Regions from separate parts of the Homo sapiens genome. Here regions 1, 3, 4 and 5 are each linked to region 2. Evidence: promoter capture Hi-C in 16 types of primary human blood cells and fetal thymus (Javierre and others, 2016). All regions are on one chromosome and are shown on one strand. The core of a region is centred on a gene start or on the middle of the fragment in contact, and the rest is flanking DNA. Distances in the headings are between cores, read along the strand shown.

Evidence for each region. The method cuts DNA at HindIII sites, captures the fragments that hold promoters and counts their contacts. A CHiCAGO score of 5 or more calls a contact.
Region 1: a fragment that was not itself captured here is called in contact with the fragment with the promoter of ZNF350 in region 2 in 2 of 17 cell types (naive CD8 T cells and non-activated CD4 T cells); the score reaches 6.0 in naive CD8 T cells.
Region 3: the fragment with the promoter of ZNF665 here is called in contact with the fragment with the promoter of ZNF350 in region 2 in 2 of 17 cell types (non-activated CD4 T cells and activated CD4 T cells); the score reaches 9.2 in non-activated CD4 T cells.
Region 4: a contact is called between a fragment that was not itself captured here and the fragment with the promoter of ZNF350 in region 2, in 1 of 17 cell types (non-activated CD4 T cells). The highest score is 5.3, in non-activated CD4 T cells.
Region 5: a fragment that was not itself captured here is called in contact with the fragment with the promoter of ZNF350 in region 2 in 4 of 17 cell types (non-activated CD4 T cells, total CD8 T cells, naive CD8 T cells and 1 more); the score reaches 8.1 in non-activated CD4 T cells.

What each region holds. Positions count from the first base shown.
Region 1 is chr19:53,144,619-53,150,117 of GRCh38, forward strand. ZNF347 (zinc finger protein 347) reads right to left here. Exons shown (of 5, transcript NM_032584.3): 3 at 4,623-4,749; 4 at 4,063-4,191. Among named protein-coding and RNA genes, the nearest start is that of ZNF347, 12 kb to the right of the region's middle. RefSeq lists silencers at 3,005-3,205, 3,225-3,425. The HindIII fragment of the contact is 7,508 bases long and covers 1-5,181 here.
Region 2 is chr19:51,983,426-51,988,949 of GRCh38, forward strand. ZNF350 (zinc finger protein 350) reads right to left here and starts at 3,415. Exons shown (of 5, transcript NM_021632.4): 1 at 3,345-3,415. RefSeq lists enhancers at 2,880-3,755, 3,342-3,581. The HindIII fragment of the contact is 6,623 bases long and covers 2,880-5,524 here.
Region 3 is chr19:53,191,107-53,196,321 of GRCh38, forward strand. It overlaps ZNF665 (zinc finger protein 665), which reads right to left and starts at 2,252. Exons shown (of 4, transcript NM_024733.5): 1 at 2,206-2,252. RefSeq lists an enhancer at 2,068-2,217. The HindIII fragment of the contact is 17,049 bases long and covers 1-5,215 here.
Region 4 is chr19:53,165,093-53,170,264 of GRCh38, forward strand. It overlaps ZNF665 (zinc finger protein 665), which reads right to left. Exons shown (of 4, transcript NM_024733.5): 4 at 1-1,255. Among named protein-coding and RNA genes, the nearest start is that of ZNF347, 8.6 kb to the left of the region's middle. The HindIII fragment of the contact is 4,840 bases long and covers 965-5,172 here.
Region 5 is chr19:53,207,503-53,212,602 of GRCh38, forward strand. It overlaps LOC124904792 (zinc finger protein 480-like), which reads left to right. Exons shown (of 5, transcript XM_047439805.1): 4 at 3,125-3,305; 5 at 3,445-3,448. The coding sequence ends at 3,448. It also overlaps the pseudogene LOC100419845. Among named protein-coding and RNA genes, the nearest start is that of ZNF665, 17 kb to the left of the region's middle. The HindIII fragment of the contact is 1,597 bases long and covers 2,169-3,765 here.

The DNA of each region.
Region 1 (5,499 bases), core at 178-2,677, 1.2 Mb after region 2:
TTTAAATTTTTTTTCTATTTTAAACAGATGGGATCTCCCTATGTTGCCCAGGCTGTGGTCCATTGCCTAGTCACAGGTGAGTTCACAGTGCACTGCAGCCTTGAACTTCTGGCCTTAAGCATTCCTCTCTCCTCAGCCTCCCAAGTAGCTAAAATTACAGGTATGTTCCATGCCCTAACAGACGTTTACAGACCATTTTATCCAGCTGTTGCAAAATACATATTCTTCTCATCAGCACATGGATTATGCTTCAGGATAGATTATATGTTAAGACACCAAACAAGTCTCAATAAATTCAAAAAAGTCAAAATTGTATCTAGTATCTTTTCTGACCACAATAAAATAACACTAGAAACCAACAAGAAGAGCCTCAGAAGATACACAAACATGGCTGGGCGTGATGGCTCACACCTGTAATCCCAGCACTTAGGGAGGCCAAAGTTGGGCAGATCACCTGGCGTCAGGAGTTCAAGACCAGCCTGGCCAACATGGTGAAACCCTGTTTCTACTAAAAACACAAAAATTAGCCAGGCGTGGTGGCACACGCCTATAATCCTAGCTACTCGGGAGGCTGAGGCAGGAGAATTGCTTGATCCCAGGAGGTGGAGGATGCAGTGAGCCAAGATTGTGCCATGCACTCCAGCCTGGGTGACAGAGCAAGAGTCTGTCTAGAAAAAAAAAAAAAAAAGAAGATACAAAAACACATGGAAATTAGACAACATATTCCTGAACAGCCACTGAGTTAATGAAGAAATTAAGAAGGAAATAAAACATTTCTTTTTTTTTTTTTTTGAGATAGGGTCTTGCTCTGTCACCTACACTGGAGTGCAATGGTGTGATCTCAGCCCACTGCAACCTCCACTTCCTGGGCTCAAGTGATCCACCCACCTCAGCCCCCCAAGTAGCAGAGACCACAGGCACACACCACCATGCCCAGCTAATTTTTGTATATTTTACCAAGACAGAGTTTGGACATGTTGCTCAGGCAGGTCTCAAACTCCTGAGCTCAAGCAATCCGCCTGCCTCAGCCTCCTAAGGTGCTGGGATTCCAGGCATGAGCCACCATGCCTGGCTAAAAATTTCCTGAAACAAATTAAAATGCAAAACAGCACAATCTATAGGATACAGAAAAAGCAGCAAAAAGAGGAAAGTTTGTAGCAATAAACACCTATATCAAAAAAACAGTAAGTCAACAAATAAAACACCTAATGATACAACTCAAGGAACTAGAAAAGCAAGAACAAACCAAACCCAAAAGTAGTAGAGGGAAAGGAATAATAAAGATCACAGTAGAACTAACCAAAATAAAGACTAAAAAAAAATCTAAGATCAATAAAATGAAAAGTAGGATTAAAAAAAAATTTTTTTTTTTTTGAGATGGAGTTTTGCTCTTGTTGCCTGGGCTGGAATGCAGTGGCATGATACCAGCTCACCATAACCTCTGCCTCCCAAGTTCGAGAGATTCCCCTGCCTCAGCCTCCCGAGTAGCTGGGATTACAGGCATGTGCCCCCACGCCCGGCTAATTTTGTATTTTTAGTAGAGATGGGGTTTCTCCATGTTGGTCAGGCCGGTCTTGAATTCCCAACCTCAGGTGGTCCACCCACCTTAGTCTCCCAAAGTGCTGGGATTACAGGTGTGAGCCACCGTGCCCGGCCTAAAAAAATTTTTTTTTAGAGATGGGGTCTATCTCTCTCACACAGGCTGGAGTGCAGTGGCCCAGTCATAACTCACTGCAGCCTTGAACTCCTGGGTTTAACTGATCCTCCTCCCTCAGCCTCCCAAGTAGCTGGGACTACAGAAACGCACTACCATGCTTGGCTAATTTTCGTTTTATTTTTAGAGATGGGGTCTCTTTCTATGTTGCCCAGGCTGGTTTGAACTCCCCGCCTCAAGCAATTCTCCTTTCTCAGTCTCCCAAGTTCCTGGGATTACAGGCATGAGGCACCATGCCTAGCTTGAAAAGTAGGTTTTTCTAAAAGATAAGCAACATCAACAAACTTTTAGCTAAACTGAAATAAAAGGTGGGGGGAGGTACACCCAAATTAATAAAATCAGAGACAAAACAGAAAACATTAGAACTGATACCATAGATACACAAAGGACCATTAGGGACAATTATGAACAACTACATACAAATTTAAAAACCTAGAAGAAAGGGATACATTTCTGGACACATACAACCTATCAAGATTGAAACATGAAGAAATAGAAAACCTGAAGACACTAATAACAAAATTGAAGCTGAAAAAAAAAAAATTTCATGTAGAAGAAAAGCCCAGGATTGAATGGATTCACTGCTGAATTATACCAAACACTTGAAGAAGAACTAATACTGGCTAGGCATGTTAGCTCACGCCTGTAATCCCAACAGTTTGGGAGGCTAAGATGGGAGGACTGCTTGATGCCAGAAGTTTGAGAGCAGCCTGGGAAACACAGCAAGACCTCGGCTCTACTAAAAAATAAAAAAGGATTTGGCCAGGCACGGTGGCTCACGCCTGTAATCCCAGCACTTTGGGTGGTTGAGGCAGGTGGATCACCTGAGGTAAGGAGTTCAAGACCAGCCTGGCCAACATGGTGAAACCCCAACTCTACTAAAAATACAAAAATCAGCCAAGTGTGGTGGCACACGCCTGTAATCCCAGCTACTTGGGAGGCAGAGGCAGGAGAATCATTTGAACCTGGGAGGCAGAGGTTGCAGTGAGCCAAGATTACGCCACTGCATTCCAGCCTGGACAAGAGAACGAGACTGCATCTCAAAAACAAACAAACAAACAAACAAAAAAACACAATTAGTTGGGCGTGGTAGTGTGTGCCTGTAACCCCAGCTACTGGGGAGGATGTGGAGGGAGGGTCAGTTGAGCCCAAGAGTCTGAGTTTGCAGTAAGCTATGATTGTGCCACTGAACTCCAGTCTGGGTGAGATAGAGAGAGAGAGACTATCTCAAATAATAATAATAATAATAATAAAGAAAGAAAAGAAAAAATAAAGAATACTAATTCTACTCAAACCATTTCAAAAATTGAAGGCAGCACATATTTCCAAACTCATTTTATCAGACCAGCATTACCCTGATACCAAAAAGCAGACAAGGACACCACAACAAAAAGAAAACTATAGGCCACTACCCCTGATGAATATACATGCAAAAATCCTTGACAAAATAGAATTCAACAACACATTAAAAAGACATTCACCATGATCAAGTGGGATCTATTCCAGGAATGCAAGGATAGTTTAATACACACAAATCAATTAATGTGATTCATCACATCAACAGAATCAAAGACAAGAAGCATATTATCATTTCAATAGATGCTGGGAAATGACTCAATAAAATCATTATCTCTTCCTAATAAAAAGTCTCAACAACTTGGGTACAGAAAAAACATACCTAAGCATGATAAAAGCCATATATGACAAATCCAGCAGGAATGTACTAAATAAGAAAAAACTGAAAGCCTTTCTGCTAAGATCTGAAAGACAAGGATGTCCACTTTCACTACTTCTATTCAACATAGCATTGATGTTCTAGCCAAAGCAATTAGGCAAGAGAAAGAAATAAAAAGCATACAGATTGAAAAGGAAGAAGTCAAAATATACTTCTTTGCAGATGACATGATTTTATATTTAGAAAAACCTAACAACTCCACTAAAACACTCTTAAAATTTAGCTAACTATATAGAATTTGGATCTGTAAGACTGAGAACTGGGCATCAGATAGAATCAACTACAGAAGGAAACACCAAAGGAGATGAAATAACCCTTTTGTAACAGCCCTCCCTGTGCCACACGGAGTCAAGGAACCAGAGTTCTCAGAAGCTAGAAAACAGTGTTGTCCATCATGATAAAGACTTTGCCTTTGTCTGAGCTGCAGCACCACTGGAAGGTGAAAGGATAAACTAGTACAAGTCTAAAGGATAGACAAAAGGGGGCAAATAAAGATTTCTGTTCTGAGGTCACAGAATTCAAACTTGTTTTCCCACAGAACTCTCAGATTTGCATAGAGTTTCCCAAACACTATTTAATAAACGGCATTTTCTCTACCCATCTGAACTCTTACCTGTGATCACAGCTTTGATCCATTCCCATCCATCTGGGTTTCCTGCTATTTGTACTTGGCTCTCCAAAGTGAAAGGCTCCTTCCCTTGCTCCAACATAGAGATAATACTGAGGTCAAAACAAGAGATTCCTGCTTATGAAAAGAAAGGAAAACAATGGGCTGTAGATTTTCCAGAGTCCCAGTCCTATGTTTACATGAGGAGGGAGGACTTTACAGCTGTATCTAAAAAAACACTTCAAAAATTCATCCACTAAATGCTTCTTTATAAATTGTTAGGAAACACTATAATATGCAAATATATAGCTCTCATCCCAAAACCACTGAATCAAAGCATGGGGATAGAAAACAGGGAATTGGATATTTTAAAAGTCCTGAAACCCTCCAGTGACATCAGGAAGAGGAAAATTAAAATCCAGTTTCCACATTATGGAGATTTTCATTTTTCAGTCAACACAGCTTCAGTCTCAGCCAAGCAATGCATGAGCTCCCAGGAGAGCCACATGGAAAATGAAAAGATACACAGGGGCAGATCCTGACTTCTGGAAGAAAGTCATCCTCACCCAGGGAGGCCAGGTTCCTATAATTCTCCAACATCACGTCCCTGTACAAAGTCCTCTGAGCGGGGTCCAGGCATGTCCACTCCTCCTGAGAGAATTCTATAGCCACATCCCTGAATGTCACCTGTCCCTAAAATGAAAAACACATCCACCAGGGGGATATAAGGAAAAGCTCCAATCTTCACATAAAATGAGAAGACAGAATAGATTAAACTGGAGTAAGTGGGCCGATATCCAAGTTGTGATATAATAAAATATACATATGGTCTTCATCCCCCTTTCCTGACATACATCTCACTTGGAATCTCTGGAGTGATAAGTGCCTTTGTAAGCTAATGAGATGACTGGTGGCTGGAGGCCCCAAGATAGTTTCAGAATGGCGGGGTGGTCACCAGAAAGACCAAGGCTGGATTACAGAGTTGGGACTTCGAGCCCCATCCCCCAACTTACCCTGAGGGGATGGGGGCTGAAGGCTCGGCTGATCACCAGTAGCCAAAGATGTAAGCAATCGTGCCCACTTAATGAAGCCCCCATAATAACCCGAAAGGACAGGGCCTGAACAAGCTTCAGGATAGGGAAACACACGGAGGCTCTGAGGACGCCCCCACCGACCCCCACCAAAGACAGCACTCAGCCTCCCAAGTAGTTGGGATTACAGGCATGCACCACCACGCCATGCTCCTTCTCCCATACCTTACCCAATAGACTGCTTACATCTGGCTGTTCATCTGTATACTCTGTAATATCCTATATAATAAATGGGTCAATATAAATAAAGTGTTTCCCTGATTTCTCTGAGCCATTCTAGCAAATTAATCAAACCTGAGGAGGGGGTCATGGGAATTCATGATGTATAAGCCAGTCAGTGAGAAGCAGAGAC
Region 2 (5,524 bases), core at 2,165-4,664:
GTTAAAATAAGAGAAAGCCATCTGTCTCCTGCTCCTCCCTGGGAATGGAATGTCCCGGTATAAAACCCAATCATACATTCTATTTACTAAGATAGGAGAAAACCACCTTATAACTAAAGGTGAGACATACTGGCGGCAATACTACTCTTTACTACACTAAGATGTCTGTGTAAAGTCAAACATAAATCTGGCCTACGTACACATCAAGGCACAGGACCTTTCCTTAAACTTATTTATAACACAGAGTCCTTTACTCACATGTTTTCCTACTGACCCTCTCCCCACCATTACCCTATAGTCCTGCCACACCCCCCTCACCAAGATGGTAAAAATAGTAATCAATAAATACTAACAAAACTCAGAGACCAGTGCCGGTGTGGGTCCCCCATATGCTGAACACCAGTCCCCTGGGCCCACTTTTCTTCCTCTGTACTTTCTCTCTGTGTCTGATTTCTTTTCTCAGTCTCTCATTTCCACCTTGCAAAAAATACCCACAGGTGTGGAGGGGCAGGCCCCCTTCAGGCAGGTGGACCACTTGAGCCAGAGTTGGAGACCAGCCTGGCCATCATGGTGAAACCCCATCTCTACTAAAAATACAAAAATTAGCCAGGCAAGGTGGCACCTGCTGGTAATTCCAGCTACTCGGGAGGCCGTGGCACAAGAATCACTTGAGCCCAGAAGGCAGAGGTTGCAGTTGAGCCAAGCACGCCACTACACTCCAGCCTGGGCGACGAGAGCAAGACTCTATCTAAAAAAATTAAAAAAAAAAAAAAAAATCAATAAATGGTACTGGGGATGGGGACAGAAAGTTAAAACCCCCCTCACAACATACACAAAAACCATTTTAGAATCAACTGTCAATTTCAATGGTAGAAACATATCAATAAAGCTTTAAAGAACATTAATATAGGAGAATCTCTCAATGTTATTAGGGTATGGCCAGATATTTTAAAGAGGCCACATAAAGCACCCTATAAAGCAAACTATATCCTGCTAGGGGAACTGTAAGTGGTACAACCACTTTAGAAAACAGTTTGACATCTATTTAGACGGAGTTTATACACACTCTATGAAGCAGCAATTTTCCTCCGAGGTGCACATCTAGATATACATCTCTGCCTCCCCCATATGAGAGCACATATGAACCAAAAGACATTTACACAAATTTTCACACATGCATTATTCTTAATAATACAAGCTTTAGGTAATACAAATGTAATTAATAATAGAAAAAACTGCTATATTTTACATAATGGAATGTGATAGAAAACCTATTATACCTTTGGTCCAGCCTGCAAGAATGCTTTTTACATTTTTGAAAGACTGTAAAACAAAAAGCAAATTAGCATATGCAAGAGACCATATGTAGCCTGCAAGCCCTAAAATATTTACTGTAAATTCGCCTGATCCTTGTCATTGAGCAAAGAAAATATACTCAGATGCAACAGGAAAGACCCTCACCAATAATGAGCAAAAGAAGGCTGACACAAAAAAAGAGTGATGTACAATTCCACTGATATACAGAGTTTAAAATAGGCAAAACTGTATTAACTACAATGATAAATAATGATTAATTATATAAAGAAAAGCCTAAAATACTTTTCGGTGTGAGAATGGAAAAAGACTCACAGAACACCACTGGTGTGCTGACCATATTCTATTTCTTGACCTGGGCAATGACTGCTTATACATATATTGCCTCCATGATAATTAAATTGTACATTTAAAATATATAAATGTAGAAAAATTAACAAAGTAAAGGAAGAGATCAACCATACCAAACAGTTTACCTCCAGGAAAGGTGTTAACTCCAGACAACACAACGGGTGAATTTTACAGGTGGGTAATAAAACAAGAACGTCCACTAACACCCTATTTTCCTACTTTATACTGGAAAGTTGAGCCAATGCATTAAGATAAGAATGAATTATAAGCATTACAAAGTAAGACAGAAAATTAATGTTATTTTCAGGCGATATCATCACGAACATGGAAAAAGAGATTCAAGAAATTACATATTTAAAAAAGAAAATGCTCCCTCAGAAACTCCCAGGCAGATTTTCACATACATAGTTGGCTAGAATTGCACCATACGCCTAAGCTCATTTCCATGTCAAACCTATCACTAGCAATGGCAATTGGAACCAGCAAGATTGGCTAAGACCAACAAGGCCTTACTAAGAAACTGGGATTTGGGTCGCCTTGCCACAGGGATGAATACTTCACGAAATGGAGATTCTGTTAAGAAAGTGTGAATATAAGGCGGGCAAGCAACACTCACTATATATTAAGAAGTGAAGGCCGGGCGCGGTGGCTCACGCCTGTAATCCCAGCACTTTGGAAAGCCAAGGTGGGCGGATCACCTGAGGTCAGGAGTTCGAGACCAACCTGCCCAACGTGGTAAAACCCTGTCTCTACTAAAAATACAAAAACTAGCCGGGCGTGGTGGCGTGGGCCTGTAGTCCCAGCTACTCAGGAGGCTGAGGCAGGAGAATCGCTTGAACCCGGGAGGCGGAGATTGCAGTGAGCCGAGATCGCGCCATTGCACTCCAGTCTGGGAGACAAAAGTGAAACTCCGTCTCAAAAAATAAAAAAAATAAATAAAAAATAAAAGAAGTGAATGCAGAGGTTGGCAACATTTTCGATTTTGCCGGCCACGAGGTCTCTGTCACAACAACTCAACCGCTGCCTTTGCAGCCATAGACAATATATAATCGGAGGGTATGACTGAACTTGACCCCCCGATCTGTAAATAGCCACCCCAAGGATCAGAAGAGTAGATATATGGTTTCGAACTAATGCTGGGGGCTGTGTCGCCTTTTGCCCCAGTAACCGAGGTTCGAACCTCAACCCAGGACCCAGGGCTCCAAAGTCTCGAAAGCTTCAGCCCTCACAAGCCTTTGTACCACAGACACTGGCCCCATGCCTCTTACTCATCCGAACCACGGACCAGACACTCTACAGCGATGGACATCCTCCCAGACTCCAACATCACTGAGTTCCAAATTAAATCCTGAACCCGAAGCAGACGCCGCATCGATCCTAATCGCCACCTCCATCCTTTACAAGCAGAGTGATCCATACCTTGACAGTTAGGACACGGCCGTTGATCACTACAGACCCTTAGTCACTGTACTCACACCAAAGGCACGCGGACCACAGACAGGGGGATCACAGACTCCCACCAGGTACCTCCCAAATGCCTATACCCCGGCGCTCCCCAGTCTTCCTGCCAAAAACTATGTGGTCCAGGGTACACCACGTCCTCAGATCTCCCAAACCTTCCACTGAGACAAAACCTGAACTAGGACAAAAAACTTTCAGGGACAAAACCACACACTGACCTCTATTTTCTCCAGATACACAAGAAGGGCCTCAACGTTACACTTCCGTAAACTGCTCCTACTTCTGGAGTCCTCGCACGGGTTTATGGTCCACCTACGGCGGCCGAGGAGAACCTAAAATGTTTAAAAGAGCAAGGACAAGCGCATTTACGGCATTTCCTACTCTGTAAAATGGCCGCGCCCATAGCCGTGGCTCCTGACGGCAGCCATGTTTGAAAATTGGACGCACAGAAGGCAGTGGCAGGTTTTTGAGCCAGGAGCCAGGGAAGAAGAGAAGTCACTGAAATCGCCTCGTTTCCTGGCACTTAAAGTCTTGCGAAAGGGGGCAGATTTTCAGAGACTCAGGCTTTATCAGGCAAATATGGGGCAAGCTAAATTGCCTTTAGCGCTTTTCCATCCACTTTGTTAAATTTAAAAAAAAAGGTTTTGAAAAAGACAAGTAACAGTGCAGCCAGGTGTAGGTATCCCAGAGAATGAATTGGAAATGGAAAAGGTAACAGATCAGGTAGAAAGGGAAAAGGCAACACATCAGGTAGGCAGACACCCACGGGAAAGCGTCTGGCGAAAATTAGCTTGCAGGAAGCGGTTTTTAAGAACAGAAAAATAGCAGGTATTCGGGGGGGCGGGTGGTGAAGAAAGAAAAAAATTATAATTTTTTTTGAGACGGAGTCTTGCTCTGTCGCCAGGCTGGAGTGCAGTGGCGAGATCTGGGCTCACTGCAACCTCTGCCTCCCTGGTTCAAGCGATTCTCCTGCCTTAGCCTCCCAAGTAGCTGGGACTACAGGCACGCGCCACCACGCCCAGCTAATTTTTGTATTTTTAGTAGAGACTGGCTTTCACCATGTTGGCCAAGATGATCTCGACCTCCTGACCTCGTGATCTGCCTGTCTCGGCCTCCCAAAGTGCTGGGATTACAGGTGTGAGCCACCGCGCCTGGCCTCGAAAAAATGATTATTATTTACAAAAAAGAAGAAGAAGAAGGAGGAAGAGGAGGAGGAGAAGGAAGAGAAAAGAGGAGAAAAGAAGAGAAAAGAGGAGAGGAGAGGAGAGAAAAGAGATTTTGAGAATGAATTACGATGTGAGCCTGGCCACGACAGACTAAAGGAATTGGGCCTCCTAGAAAGGCCACTTTTAGTAAAGGTGCCAATGGGAAGAGCAGAGCCAGAATTGAGAGTATAAAAATATTGTTAAGAGTTTTTGACAAAAGTGCCAAGACAATTCAATAAGAATAGTCTTTTCAACAAGCGGCACTGGGATAATTGGATATCCACATCCAGAAAAATGAGTTAGGACCCTCAAACCATACACAAAAGTTAACTCAAAATAGATCATAGATCTAAGTTTAAGAGAAAGTATAAAACTTAGAGAAGGAAAAGGGAGATAATCCTCATGGACGTGAGTTAATTCTGAGAGGAGAGTAAAGGATGACCCACAAAACAAAATAAAATTAATAAAGTGGACTTGATTTTTTTTTAAGTTTGTGCTTCTAAACACAACATTTAAGAAAGTGAAGTGGGGCACGGTGGCTCACACCTGTAATCCCAGCACTTTGGGAGGCCGAGGCAGGCGGATCATCTGAGGTCAGGAGTTCCAGACCAGCCTGGCCAACAAAGCGAAACCAGTCTCTACTAAAAATACAAAAATTACCCGGACGCGGTGGCGCGCGCCTGTAATCCCAGCTACTCGGGAGCCTGAGGCAGGAGAATCGCTTGAATCCGGGAGGCGGAGGTTGCAGTAAGCCGAGATCGCGCCACTGCACCCCAGCCTGGGCGACAGAGCAAGACTCCTCGGTAAAGACACCACTTCGTCACCCTGAATTACTCTGATTTTTATGGGTACAATGAGAATAGTGGACCTAGGAAGAAAAAGTTTTTAAATAGAAACCTTCAGGACAGATTTGGACTTGAAAGACTGACAGGAAGTGTTTCCAGCATCCAGTTAGTCTCAAAGCAACCACTAACCTTCAACTGCACACCTGAAAGCCTCCAGCCTCATTACATTCTCAAACACAGACAAGCCCCGTCTTCCTCTAAATAAAATTGCCTTCAAATTCAATTTAAAACTTACCACAGAGGCACTCCTTTGACACTCCTCCCCCTAGACCTTTCATTCACGCCACTCCTCTTCCTAGCTCGGGCTTCTCTGTATCTGAGCCCCATATTAAATTGCAAATCTGAGCA
Region 3 (5,215 bases), core at 1,002-3,501, 1.2 Mb after region 2:
GAGGGAACCCTCAACTAGTGGGATCTAATGCTAACTCTGGGTAGACAGTGTCCGAATTGAATTAAATTATTGGACAGTCAGGTAGTGTTTGTTCAAGAACTGCGTGTTGGTGAGGAGAAATCCCCACCCCACACGTTTTGGTGATGAGAGGCGATGCATTCTTTGTTGAGCGTTCATTACTTGATTATGAGAGTGGGAAAAACACTTTGGTTTTTCCTCCTCACTCATACACTTGCCTACACATTACCCCATCCTAGGAAAAGGAAAGAGGGTGACCCATAACTGAATGAGTCAAGTCACTGCTCTCTTAGAACAGAGATTGCAAATAGAAGCTAACCTCTGATGCCAGGAATTATAAAATGCACATGTCTTATAGACAAAACTTTTGTGATTCTCACCAGCATCTCCATAACAGAAACAAAATATATACATATAAAATTTGTTAGATTATTAGGGGCTGGGCACAGTGGCTCATGCCTGTAATCCCAGCATTTTGGGACGCTGAGGTGGGTAGATCACCTGAGGTCAGGAGTTCGAGACCAGCCTGGTCAACATAGTGAAACCCCGTCTCTACTAAAAATACAAAAGTTAGCCAGGTGTGGTGGTGCATGCCTGTAATCCCAGCTACTCGGGAGGCTGAGGCAAGAGAATCGCTTGAACCCAGGAGGCGGAGTTACAGTGAGTCGAGATCGTGCCATTGCACGCCAGTCTGGGAAATAGAGTGAGATTCTGTCTTAAGAAAAAAAAAATTTGTTAGATTATGGATACAGAAATCAATATATCACGATGTAATTATCCATATCCAATGAAACCACCATGCATCTGGGCCATAGTCCCCCTCTTTCTTCCTTCCTGTGTGTTTCCCTCCCTCATTCTGTACATCTCTCTCATTCTCTTCTTCTCTCTCCTTGTTTCTTTTCTGTGTTTCAGCCTGGGTCTCTGCTCCTCATTTTGAGCCCCTCTCTTCTCCTGCTGTTTCTCCTTCCCTCTATCCTTCTCTTCCACTTGTTCTGTTCCATTCTTGCAACTTGTTTCACCTCTTATTCCTCTTTCACCCGTCTTTTGGTTGTCCCCAATCTCCATCTATTTCTGCCTCTTTCTTCCCTTATCTCTGCTCTCCCTGTTAAATCCCCTCTTCCCTGTTTCACTTCCTTGTCCCCACTCTTTGGCACCCCCAGATCCCAGGTCTCCCCCTGCTGTGGTTCTCCCTCTGCTCTCCTTGTCACCAGCTGCCCCTTCTTGCTGTCCCAGCACCACGCTGCTCTGTCTATCCTGGCTCCAAATACCCCCTCCTCTCCCTAACTCTCCGTCTGAGGAGCTGCCCCTCTCCCTACCTTGCTGTCCTTCATCTCTCTAGACAGCGAGCTTTTCTCTACATTTCTCCAGTTGTTTCTCCATCCTGTTACTTTCTCAGCGACTTCTTTCACCCTTACTGTCTCTTTGTAAATCCTGACCCATCCTCTACTTTGCCATGTTTACTGGTTTCCCTCATTCTTTCCTCTGTCTCCGTTTTTCTACTTTTCTCTCAGCCCCCCTCTCTGTCTCCTGATCCCCTTGGCCCACACATTCACAGGGAGGGTTTGGAGTAAGACACCTGGATCCTGGAGGAGCACATTTTCCAGCGGGTGGAGCTGGGCAGGCAAGAACACCGGGTATCACAGGACAAGGCCCGGGCACCTCCCCAACGCGGGCTCAGGGGAAACGGTGACTGCGAAGGGGAGGCCTAGGGAGCAGCAGGGCCCGGCACGAGGAGGAGGGAGGTGGGGGGCGACGGCGCCTTAGGAGAGGGGTGGGGTATGCAGGATCCCAGGACCAGGCAGAGGCGCGGCCTCCCCGGGACTGGGGCTGCGGCGCTAACGCTCCAGTAGCTGACTAGGGCGAGGTTAGGGGACGGTAAAATCCTGCACCCACTTCGCAGATGAGGACTTCACAGGGCGCAGGTCAGTAAAGGGTTTTAAGCAGGAAACGGCGCAGGAAAGGAGGTGTCTGCATGGTCTGAAGGCCGAAAGACCGCGGGCAGGACCAGCCTGTGTGATTTTAACCCAAAGCGATGCGACCCCCAGAGTCTCGCGGCAAAGTCTGAATTTACATGGAATGGAGGGAGCCGTGCGGGGACTTTAAGGGCTATACGAACCCCCGGACATCGGGTACGGAGGAGCAGGGGACTCCGAAACGCAGGTTTAATCTAGATAGAGGGAAACTCACGCGGCGACTAACAGCCTTCACTCCAAGAGATCTGCTTCCGGGTTTGCAAGAAACTGCCCGCGCAGTAGGCAAAGGGGCGGGTTGCGGTGGGGAAAGGCCAGGCGTTGGGAGGGACTGAGAGCATAGGGTGGGCGGGGCCGGGGCGGGGCCTGAACCCTGGAGGCGGAGGTTGCAATGAGCCGATATCGCGCCATTGCACTCCAGCCTGGGTGACAGAGTGAGACTTCGTCTCTCCCAAAAAAAAAAAAAAACAAAACTTAGGCTATCTAAAAGTTTAACCAATGGCCAGTAATATAAGCAATCATGCATATGTAATGAAGGCGCCATAACAACCCAAAAGGAGAGGATTCAGCGGAGCTTCTGGATAGGTGAACACTGGGAGGCTCCTGCAGCGTGGTGCACCCAGGGAGGGCACCAAGGCTCAACGCCCCTTCTCCCATGCCTCACCTCACTGATCCCTTCCATCTGGCTGTTCTTCTGTCAACTTTGTAATATCCTTTATAATACGTAAATCTATGTAAAGTGTTTCCCTGTATTTTGTGAGCCACTCTAGCAAATTCGTTGAACCTGAGGAGGGGGTCAAGGGACTCCTGGATTTATATCTGATCTGTAAGCACAAGTCACAACCTCTGCTTGAGACTGGCATTGAAATGTGTGCACTATTGTGGGACTGAGCCCTCAACGTGTGGGATCTGATGCCATGTCCCGGCAAAATGGAACGGAATGAGAGAACACGCACCTGGTGTCTGTGGCAGGATTGCTTGCTTGGTGTGTGTGGGAAAACCCAGTACCTCTGGGCTAACTGTAGCATTCTGTGTTGTGAGAGAACAGTAGAAGAAACTGAATCAGTGTTTCCTATATTCTTAAATACGAATATGTGAGGTTTGTTGTTGTTTTTTTTTTTTTTTTTTTTTTTTTAGACAAGAGTCTTGCTCTTGTCGCCCAGGCTGGAATGCAATGGCATGATCTCGGCTCACTGAGCCACCGCCCCAGCGTGAAGGCATTTTTGAGCAAGTTATGTCTCCCTAATTCTGTTTTATTGTACTTTTCCCTAAGTAGTTATAATAGCCTCTAAATCTGTGTGGAGTTTTCAGTTTTGTGGACAATACAATAAATAGACAAATAAAAACCCAAACACAAGCTGATCTCTATAGAAGTGTTAGATATTATTTTCAACACACTAAGTGATACTCCGTATCTAGATAAGCTAAAGCACGAATGATGTCTTCTGAGGTGACAAGGTCCACAGTGGCTTTACAGAAACACTGGCCAGAAGTAAAAACTGTGATGATAATGGCAATAGCAATGACTGACTTTTCTGAACACTATGTGCAAGGCATTATTCGGAATACTTTACCTGTATTAACTCAAATAACAACATAATAGCCCATGAGAAAAAGATCTTTTCCTATCTTACTAGGAAACAACTGTGTCGGCCGGGCGCTGTGGCTCACGCCTGTAATCCCAGCACTTTGGGAGGCCGAGCTGGGCGGATCACGAGGTCAGGACCGGATCACGAGCCGGGCGGATCACGATGGTCACCAGGAGACCATCCTGGCTAACACGGTGAAACCCCGTCTCTAATGATAATACAAAAAAATTAGCCGGGCGTGGTGGCGGGCGCCTGTAGTCCCAGCTACTCTACTCGGGAGGCTGAGGCAGGAGAATGGCGTGAACCCGGGAGGCGGAGCTTGCAGTGAGCCGAGATGGCGCCCCTGCACTCCAGCCTGGGCGAGAGCAAGACTCCGTCTCAAAAAAAAGAAAAAGAAAGAAACTGTCACAGATACGCTAAGAAACTGGCCTAAGGTCCAAGAGCTAGAAATGACAGAGCAAGCCCCGAACCCAGGCATCTAAGAATTACAGTTAGGCTGAGAGCAGTGGCTCACACCTGTAATCCCAGCACTTTGAGAGCCTGAGGCAGGAGGGGTGCTTGAGCCCAGGAGTTCAAGACCAGCCTGGGCAATATAGTGAAACCCCATCTCAACAAAATAAAGACAAAACAAAAACAAAAAACCCCTCAACAATTACAATTAAACCTAAAGAATCAGTTAAGTAACAGAAGTACCATCAAAAGTGACAGGATGCCAGGTCAGGGAAACCATTGAGAACAAAGGCAAGCAACATAAACGAGAGTCTGCAGTAACGCAGGCAGACACTAGGTGGAGAACCAGACCACAGCTTACCATGAAAACACAGGGACTGCAGAATTGCAGACTGTCAACAGGAGCTCTCCTGAAGAAAAACTGGCAAACCTTCTCAGGTAACTACAAGCAAAAGCCCAGAGACGACACATTCCCAGAAAAGGCTTCAGAGGTTTCCAGAATCTCTAGTCAGGCTGAATAGAGAAGGTCCTCCCTGAAGGAAGCCAGAAATAAAAAAGTAGGACTGGTTGATTAGTGAAATGCTGAGGTGCCAAGATAACAAGACATTCAAGGAGAAAAGGAAACATGATCCACACAAAGGAACAAATGAAACCACCACAAACTGACACTAAAGAAATGAAGATGTGTGAATTATCAGACAAAGAATTGAAAATAAGAGTCACAAGATGGTCAATGAATTAAGAGGAGAGCACACATAGACAACCACAGGAAATCAGGAAAACAAGATATGAGCAAAATGAGACTATCAATAGAGAGACAGAAGCTATAAAGGAAAAACAGAGAAATTTTAGAGCTGAAAAATGTAATCAGAAACGCAGAACACAGAGCCTTGGTGCTCAATGCTGCACACAGATTACAACGCCCTGGGCCACCGTAGTTATTATTGAGGGTAGATCCCAACCTGACCATGGGAATAGGAATCTTGGGCAAAAGAAAGTTGAAATGGTTAAACTTATACGTTAATACGTTAAAATACGTTAAAAGGTATTTTTGCCAGCGAATGGGACAGAAGTTGAAATGGTTCACGTTGAAATGGTTATTACTGCCAGCAGGTAGGACAGAAGAGCTGCTAGTGAGACTGAAGCAACTCTGGGTGGGGATCTGGCATCTCTGGGGGTGTCGGTTTG
Region 4 (5,172 bases), core at 2,135-4,634, 1.2 Mb after region 2:
ACCTTACCGCAGTCATTACATTTGTAAGGCTTTTCTCCAGTATGAATTGCCTGATGGGTAGTTAGGCTTGATCGCACACTAAAGGCTTTGCCACACTCATCACACCTGTAAGGTTTCTCTCCAGTATGAATTCTTCGATGATTTGCTAAGTGTGAATACTGAGTGAAAACCTTGACGCATTCATTACATTTGAAAGGCTTTTCTCCGGTATGGATGATCTGATGCTTAGTTAAGTTTGAATGCATACTGAAGGCTTTCCCACACTCATTACACTTGTAAGGTTTCTCACCAGTATGAATTCGCCGATGCTTTGCAAGGTATGAATTGTGCCTGAAGACCTTGCCACATTCATTACATTTGTAAGGTTTTTCTCCAGTGTGGATTGTCTGATGGGTAGTCAGGCTTGAGCGAACACTAAAGGCTTTGCCACACTCATTACACTTGTAAGGCTTCTCCCCAGTATGAATTCTTCGATGACTTGCAAGGTGTGAATTTTGAGTGAAGCACTTGCCACATTCCTTACATTTGTAAGGTTTTTCTCCAGTATGGATGACCTGATGTGTAGTTAGTTTTGAATGTGCTCTAAAGGCTTTGCCACACTCATTACACTTGTAAGGTTTCTCTCCAGTATGAATTCTCTGATGACCTGCAAGGTTTGAAGGTTGACTGAAGACCTTTCCACATTCATTACATTTGTAAGGTTTTTCTCCAGTATGGATGACCTGATGGATTGTTAGGTTTGAACGAACAGTAAAGGCTTTGCCACACTTATTACACTGGTAAGGCTTCTCTCCAGTATGAATTCTCTTATGACTTGTTAGCCGTGAGTTTTGACTGAAGACCTTGCCACATTCATCACATTTATAATGTTTTCCTCGATTATTAGGAGACTTCTCAACTTGATTGTATTCATAAATTTTCCCTTCATGTTGAAATTGCTGCAGTTCAGGGAGATGTGACTGAAAGCTTACTCCAAGCTGATTTTCAATATGCCTGTTTCCTGCAGCCCTTCTATCACGTTGAGCTCTTCTACCAGGGAGATTTTCTTTTTGCAACATAAGTACTGTTTTATAATTTCCTTCATCATCTTTCCACTGACACTCAAAGTCGTATGTATTTTTCTGAACTTCCTGGAAGGACAAGCCTACAGTGTCACAGCTTTCAAGTCTCTCCAACTTCACCGTGTAGAACGCTTCTCCCATATTGTTCTTCCCCTTTGGTGGCAAATCCGTGTTTACACATTTACAAGAGATATCTGTAAGATATAAACAACCATAGATTTCCAGTTAACTATAGTAGGTAAATAACTATTTCCCATTGAAAAACCTAATGTTACACCAAAAGTAATAGTTATGTTGAACAGACTTACGATTCTTCAGAACCATAATTTTCCAGAACACAAAAGGAACAGGATTCCTTATCAAAGAAAAGGTGGTAACATGTAATTCAAATAGTAGGGGATCCTAGTTTTAAACATTCTGTGAACAAAACACTCATATTGTGCAAACCCATATTAGCCCTGAAAGGAGTATTTTTCAACCATGACCCAAGGCTACCAATTGGCAGTATATTTTATATGGCTGTCACAGAATTCAAGAGAAATAATTCTTAGATTGTGCCTATTTAAAGCATATTTGTTATGCATAAGTAAATGCTGAAGCACAACATGATATACTCTAATGGCAAATAACTCACAGCAAACATATGTAATGAATAATTAAAGAACTAGTAATTTTGAATTGGAAAACAATAATAGCACTGAAAAAACGAGGAGGAATTCAATTTTAAAATGTCAGAAAAAACTATTTTTCTGAATACCTGTTATAAAACTACATACCCCTATATACCCACACAGAGCAAACATTTTGCAACATTAACAAGTGGTATATAACAGTTATATTTCTTTCTTTCTTTCTTTCTTTTTTTTGAGAAGGACTTTTGCTCTTGTTGCCCAGGCTGGAGTGAGTGGTGCAATCTCGGCTCACCGCAACCTCCGCCTCCCAGGTTCAAGCGATTCTCCTGCCTCAGCCTCCTGAGTAGCTGGGATTACAGGCATGCACCACCAGGCCAGACTAATTTTGTATTTTTAGTAGAGACAGGGTTTCTCCATGTTGGTCAGGCTGGTCTCGAACTCCCGACCTCAGGTGATCCCCCCGCCTCAGCCTCCCAAAGTGCTGGTATTACAGGAGTGAGCCACTGCGCCCAGCCCCAACAGTTGTATTTCTTACAAATGGTAAAAAACCATCCTCTATCAATAATAATCGAAATTAAGAAAATATTTTAGCAACTCAGGATATAAGCAGTAGGCAAGAATTAGTAACCGTGTTTACAGGAAGTTATAGTCTGTGGATTGTCAACAATTTCTCTCTCTTTTTTTTTGGAGACAGAGTCTCGCTTTGTCACCCAGGCAGTGGCGCGATCTCGGCTCACTGCAAGCTCCGCCTCCCGGGTTCCCGCCATTCTCCTGCCTCAGCCTCCCGAGTAGCTGGGACTACAGGCGCCCGCCACCGCGCCCGGCTAATTTTTTGTATTTTTAGTAGAGACGGGGTTTCACCGTGTTAGCCAGGATGGTCTCGATTTCCTGACCTCGTGATCCACCCACCTCAGCCTCCTAAAGTGCTGGGATTACAGGCGTAAGCCAGGGTGCTTGGCCAACAATTTCTCTTGAGAAAAGAGGAGTCTGCCGGGCGCCGGTGGCTCCCGCCTGTAATCCCAGCACTTTGGGAGGCCGAGGCGGGTGGATCACGAGGTCAGGAGATCGAGACCATCCTGGCTAACACGATGAAACCCCGTCTCTACTAAAGATACAAAAAATTCGCCATGCGTTGTGGCGGGCGCCTGCAGTCCCAGCTACTCGGGAGGCTGAGGCAGGAGAATGGCGTGAATCCAGGAGGTGGAGCTTGCAGTGAGCCGAGATTGTGCCATTGCACTCCAGCCTGGGCGACACAGCCTGACTCCCTCTCAAAAAAAAAAAAAAAAAAAAAAAAAAAGAAAGAAAGAAAGAAAAGAGGAGTTCTACTTCAGAACCAGCACAGGATATAAGAACTGGAATATAATTTTTTTTTATGAAATAAAACTGTCTTTATTTGCAGATAACATAATCATCCTTGAGAAAATTCAATATACTCTACAAAAATGCTGCTAGAACTAGTGAGTTTAGCAAGGTTGAAGAATACATTATCAATACCCCAAAGAATCAATTTTATTTCTATATACTAGCAATGAATAATCAGAAAGTTTTCTAAAATGCAGTTTGCAATAGCTTTAAAAACATTAAATACTTAGAGAAAAGTCCGACAGCAGATATGAAGAACCTATACACTAAAAACTATAAAATATTGCAGAGAGGAATTAAAGAAGACCTAAATAAATGAAAAGCTAAATATATCTTGTTCAGCATTTAGAAGACTCAATATTGTTAAAACAGCAACACTCCCCATTTAGCCTATTGATTCAACACAATCCCAACCAAAATTCCAGCATGTATTTTTTGAGAAATTAACAGGCTTTCTAAAATTCATAGGAAAATGGAAAGGATCTAGCATAATTAAAACAATTTTGATAAAGAAGAAAGTTGTAACACTATCACTACCTGCTTTCATTATAAAAGTGTAGTCATCAAGACAGTGTGATTATTGTTGATTAGACAAATATCAAATAGATCAATGGAATGAAATAGAGAATACTGAAATAGACTCACGTTATATAGACAACTGATTTTTGACAAAGAATAAATGGCAATTCCATGGAGAAAAGACAGTCTTTTTAAAAAATGGTGCTGAAACAATTAGATCTTCATATGCAAAAAAACCCTTTTGTTTATACCTCATTCCATATAGAAAAATATACTCAAATAGATCAGATGAAAACCTAATGTAAAATCTAAACCATAAAACTTTTAGAAAACCAACATGAGGAAAAATCTGTGGAGCCCTCGGATCAAGCAAAGATTTCCTAGATATGATACCACAATCATGATCCATAAAAGAAAAAAAAGAATTAATTTATAAAGACACACTGTTAAAAGAATGAAGACTCGGACTGAGGGAAAATATTCACAAAGCACAAATCTGATAAAGACTTTGTATCTGGAATATACAAAGAACTCTCAAAGTTCAATATTAAGAAAACAAAAAGCCCAATTTTAAACATTGGAAAATGATTTGAACATACACTGCACAAAAGAAAATATTAATATATATAGATAATAAGCACATTAAAAGATATTCAACATCATAGTCATTAGGAAAATACAAATTAAACTACTAAATGTTGATTAGAAAGGCTGGAATTTAAAACTAGCAATACCAAGTGTTAACAAGGATGTGAAAAAACTAAAATTCTCACACACTGGTAGTGGGAATGTAAAAGGCTACAACCACTTTGGAAAATAGGTTGGATGGCTTTAAAAAAAATTTTTTTAATGGAAATATTTCTTTTTTTATTATTATTACTATACTTTAAGTTTTAGGGTACATGTGCATAATGTGCAGGTTAGTTACATATGTATACATGTGCCATGCTGGTGTGCTGCACCCATTAACTTGTCATTTAGCATTAGGTGTATCTCCTAAAGCCTATCCCTCCCCCTTCCCCCCACCCCACAACAGTCCCCAGAGTGTGATGTTCCCCTTCCTGTGTCCATGTGTTCTTATTGTTCAATTCCCACCTATGAGTGAGAATATGCGGTGTTTGGTTTTTTGTTCTTGCAATAGTTTACTGAGAATGATGATTTCCAATTTCATCCATGTCCCTACAAAGGACATGAACTCATCATTTTTTATGGCTGCATAGTATTCCATGGTGTATATGTGCCACATTTTCTTAATCCAGTCTATCATTGTTGGACATTTGGGTTGGTTCCAAGTCTTTGCTATTGTGAATAGTGCCGCAATAAACATACGTGTGCGTGTGTCTTTATAGCAGCATGATTTATAGTCCTTTGGGTATAAACCCAGTAATGGGATGGCTGGGTCAAATGGTATTTCTAGTTCTAGATCCCTGAGGAATCGCCACACTGACTTCCACAATGGTTGAACTAGTTTACAGTCCCACCAACAGTGTAAAAGTGTTCCTATTTCTCCACATCCTCTCCAGCACCTGTTGTTTCCTGACTTTTTAATGATTGCCATTCTAACTGGTGTGAGGAATGGAATATAACTTTTTTAAAAA
Region 5 (5,100 bases), core at 1,717-4,216, 1.2 Mb after region 2:
TTTAATGTGTCCCAGAGATTCTGGTATGTTGTGTCTTTGTTCTCATTGGTTTCAAAGACTGCCTTCATTTCATTATTTACCCAGTAGTCATTCAGGAGAAGGTTGTTCAGTTTCCATGTAGTTGTGCAGTTTTGAATGAGTTTCTTAATCCTGAGTTCTAATTTGATTGCACTGTGGTCTGAGAGACGGTTTGTTATGATTTCCATTCTTTTGCATTTGCTGAGAAGTGTTTTACTTCCAATTATGTGGTCAATTTTAGAATAAGTGCGATGTGGTGCTGAGAAGAATGTATATTCTGTTGATTTGGGGTGGAGAGTTCTGTAGATGTCTATTAGGCCTGCTTGGTCCAGAGTTGAGTTCAAGTCCTGGATATCCTTGTTAGTTTTCTGTCTCATTGATCTGTTTAATATTGACAGTGGGGTGTTAAAGTCTCCCACTATTATTGTGTGGGAGTCTAAGTCTCTTTGTAGGTCTCCAAGAACTTGCTTTATGAATGTGGGTGCTCCTGTATTGGGTGCATATATATTTAGTATAGTTAGCTCTTCTGGTTGCATTGATCCTTTACCATCATGTAATGCCCCTCTTTGTCTCTTTTGATCTTTGTTGGTTTAAAGTCTGTTCTATCAGAGACTAGGATTGCAACCCCTGCTTTTTTTGCTTTCCATTTGCTTGGTAGATATTCCTCCATCCCTTTATTTTGAGTATATGTGTGTCTTTGCATGTGAGATGGGTCTCCTGAATACAGCACACCGATGGGTCTTGACTCTTTATCCAATTTGCCAGTCTGTGTCTTTTAATTGGGGCATTTAGCCCATTTACATTTAAGGTTAATATTGTTACGTGTGAATTTGATCCTGTCATTATGATGCTAGCTGGTTATTTTGCTCATTAGTTGATGCAGTTTCTTCATAGTGTCGATGGTCTTTACAATATGGTATGTTTTTGCAGTGGCTGGTACCAGTTGTTCCTTTCCATGTTTAGTGCTTCCTTCCTTATAAGGCAGGCCTGGTGGTGACAAAATATCTCAGCATTAGCTTGTCTGTAAAGGATTTGATTTCTCCTTCACTTATGAAGCTTAGTTTGGCTGGATATGAAACTCTGGGCTGAAAATTCTTTTCTTTAAGAATGTTGAATATTGGCCCCCACCCTCTTCTGGCTTGTAGAGTTTCTGCCAAGAGATCTGCTGTTAGTCTTAGGGCTTCCCTTTGTGGGTAACCTGACCTTTCTCTCTGGCTGCCATTAACATTTTTTCCTTCATTTCAACCTTGGTGAATCTGACGATTATGTATCTTGGGGTTGCTCTCCTTGAGGAGTATCTTTGTGGTGTTGTCTGTATTTCCTGAATTTGAATGTTGGCCTGTCTTGCTAGGTTGGATAAGTTCTCCTATAATAATATCCTGAAGGGTATTTTCCAACTTGGTTCCATTCTCCCCATCACTTTCAGGTACACCAATCAAATGTAGATTTGGTCTTTTCACACAGTCCCATATATCTTGGAGGCTTTGTTCATTTCTTTTCACTCTTTCTTCTCTAATCTTGTCTTCTCACTTTATTTCATTAAGTTGATCTTCAATCTCTGATATCCTTTCTGCTGCTTGATCAATTCAGTTATTGATACTTATGTATGCCTCATGGAGTTCTCATGCTGCGTTTTTCAGCTCCATCAGGTCATTTATGTTCTTCTCTAAAGTGGTTATTCTAGTTAGCAATTCATTTAACCTTTTTTCAAGGTTCTTTTCTTCCTTGCATTGGGTTAGAACATGCTCCTTTAGCTCAGAGGAGTTTGTTATTACCCACCTTCTGAGGCCTACTTCTGTCAATTCGTCAAACTCATTCTCCTAGTTTTGTTCCCTTGCTGGTGAGGAGTTGTGATTCTTTGGAACAGAAGAGGCATTCTGGTTCTTTTTGTGCTGGTTTCTCCCCATCTTTGTGGATTTATCTACCTTTGGTCTTTGATATTGGTGACCTTCAGATGGGGTCTCTGAGTGGATGTCCTTTTAGTTGATGTTGATACTATTCCTGTTTGTTAGTTTTCCTTCTAACAGTCAGGCCCCTCTGCTCCACGTCTGCTGGAGTTTGCTGGGGGTCTACTCCAGACCCTGTTTGCCTGGGTATCACCAGCAGAGACTGCAGAACAGCAAAGATTGCTGCCTGTTCCTTCCTCTGGAAGCTTCATCCCAGAGGGGCACCCGCCAGGTGCCAGCCAGAGCTCTCCTGTACGAGGTGTCTGTCGGCCCCCTACTGGGAGGTATCTCTCAGTGAGGATACATGGGGGGCCAAAGACCCACTTGAGGAGGCAGTCTGTCCTTTATCAGAGCTCAAACGCCGTGCTGGGAGATCCGCTGCTGTCTTCAGAGCTATCAGGCAGGGACGGTTAAGTCTGCTGAAGCTGCTCCCACAGCCGCCTCTTCCCCCAGGTGCTCTGTCCCAGGGAGATGGGGGTTTTATCTATAAGTCCCTGATTGGGGCTGCTGCCTTTTTTTCAGAGATGCCCAGCCTAGAGAGGAGGAATCTAGAGAGGCAGTCTGGCCGCAGTGGCCTTGCTGAGCTGTGGTGGGCTCTGCCCAGTTCAGACTTTCCGGCAGCTTTGTTTACATTGTGAGGGTAAAACCGCCTACTCAAGCCTCAGCAATGGCGGATGCCCCTCCCCCCACCAAGCTCAAGTGTCCCAGGTCGACCTCAGACTGCTGTGCTGGCAGTGAGAATTTCAAGTCCATGGATCTTAGCTTGGTGGGCTCCGTGGGGGTGGGACCCCCCAAGCCAGACCACTTGGCTCCCTGGCTTCAGCCCCCTTTCCAGGGGAGTGAACAGTTCCGTCTTACGGGTGTTCCAGGTGCCACGGGGGTATGAAAAAAAAACTCCTGCAGCTAGCTCGGTGTCTGCCTAAACGTCCACCCAGTTTTGTGCTTGAAACCCAGGGCCCTGGTGGCGTAGGCACTGGAGGGAATCTCCTGGTCTGCCGGTTGTGAAGACTGTGGGAAAAGCACAGTATCTGGGCCAGAGTGCACCGTTCCTCATGGCACAGTCCCTCACAGCTTCCCTTGGCTAGGGAGGGAAATCCCCCAACCCCTTGCACTTCCCTGGTGAGGTGACGCCCCACCCTGCTTTCTCTTGCACTCTGTAGGCTGCACCCACTATCCAACCAATTCCAGTGAGATGAAGTGGGTACCTCAGTTGGAAATGCAGAAATCACCTGCCTTCTGTGTCGATCTCGCTGGGAGCCGCAGGCCAGAGCTGTTCCTATTTGGCCATCTTGCCAGCAAATCCCTAATTTTTGCATTTTTAATGGAGATGAGGTTTCACCATGTTGGCCACCTGGTCTGGAACTCCTAACCTCAGGTGATCTGCCTGTCTTGGCCTCCCAAAGTGCTGGGATTACAGGCGTGAGCCACTGCACCCGGCCGATATATTTTTCAATATGAACTACTGATTTGCCAACTGTAGTTAATAGAAAACCTGTTTTTTAAATATCTTGTAGATGTCTCTCCTACACATATGATCAAGGAATTACCACCAAAAGAGAACAATAGCACAGGAAAAGTATTCCAAGCAGTGATGTTGGAAAGACATGAAATCCATGACATCCAAGATTTTTACTTCAGAGAAATGCAGCAAAATATTCATGACTTTGAGTGTCAGTGTCACAATGATGAGAGAAATTACAGAGAAATACCTGCAATTAAAATTAAAAACATCACTGGAAGAAGAGATCAAGGTGATGGAAGGAATGCAGGAAATAAGCCAGTTGAAAATCAGCTTGAACTAAGCTTTTGGTTGCATCTGGCTGAACTGCAGGGATTTCAAATTGAAAGGAAAATTTATGAATGTAATCAAATTGAGAAGTCTGTCACCCGTGGGTCCTCAGTTTCATTACTTCAAACAAATCTTCCTTGTGTCAACACCAGCATTTCTAATATATACAGGAATGATTTTATGCATCCTTCATTACTCACACAAGACCAGAAAGCATACATTAGGGAAAAACCTTACAAATGTAGTGATTGTGGCAAGGCCTTTAATCAGAGGTCCAACCTTACTACACATCAGAGAATCCATACTGGACAGAAACCACATAAATGTGACATATGTGGCAAAGGTTTCAGGCGAATTGCAAACCTAGCAAGTCATCATAGAATTCATACTGGAGAGAAACCTTACAGATGTAATGAGTGTGGCAAGACCTTCAATCAGACGTTCAACCTTACTACACATCAGAGAATCCATACTGGACAGAAACCATATAAATGTGATAGATGTGGCAAAGGTTTCAGGCAAATTGGAAACCTAGCAAGTCATCATAGAATTCATACTGGAGAGAAACCTTACAGATGTAACGAGTGTGGCAAGACCTTTAACAGGATGTTCCACCTTACTAGACATCAGAGAATCCATACTGGACAGAAACCATATAAATGTGATATATGTGGCAAAGGTTTCAGGCAAATTGCAAACCTAGCAAGTCATCATAGAATTCATACTGGAGAGAAACCTTACAAATGTAGTGATTGTGGCAAGACCTTTAATTACAGGTCCCACCTTACAAGACATCAGAGAATCCATACTGGACAGAAACCGTATAAATGTGATACATGTGGCAAAGATTTCAGTCAAAATTCATACCTTGAAAATCATCAGAGAATTCACACTAGAGAGAAATCTTACAGATGTAATGAGTGTGGCAAGACCTTTAATAAGATGACCAACCTTACTACACATCAGAGAATCCATACTGGACAGAAAACATATAAATGTGATATATGTGGCAAAGGTTTCAGGCAAATTGGAAACCTAGCAAGTCATCATAGAATTCATACTGGAGAGAAACCTTACAGATGTAATGAGTGTGGCAAGACCTTCAATAGGATGTTCCACCTTACTAGACATCAGAGAATCCATACTGGACAGAAACCATATAAATGTGATATATGTGGCAAAAGTTTCAGTCAAAATTCATACCTTGAAAATCATCAGAGAATTCACACTGGAGAGAAAACTTACAAGTTGTAATTAGTGTGGCAAAGCCTTTAGCGTGCGCTCAAACCTAACTAAACATCAGGTCATCCATAATGGAGAGAGACCTTATAAATGTAATGAGTGGGA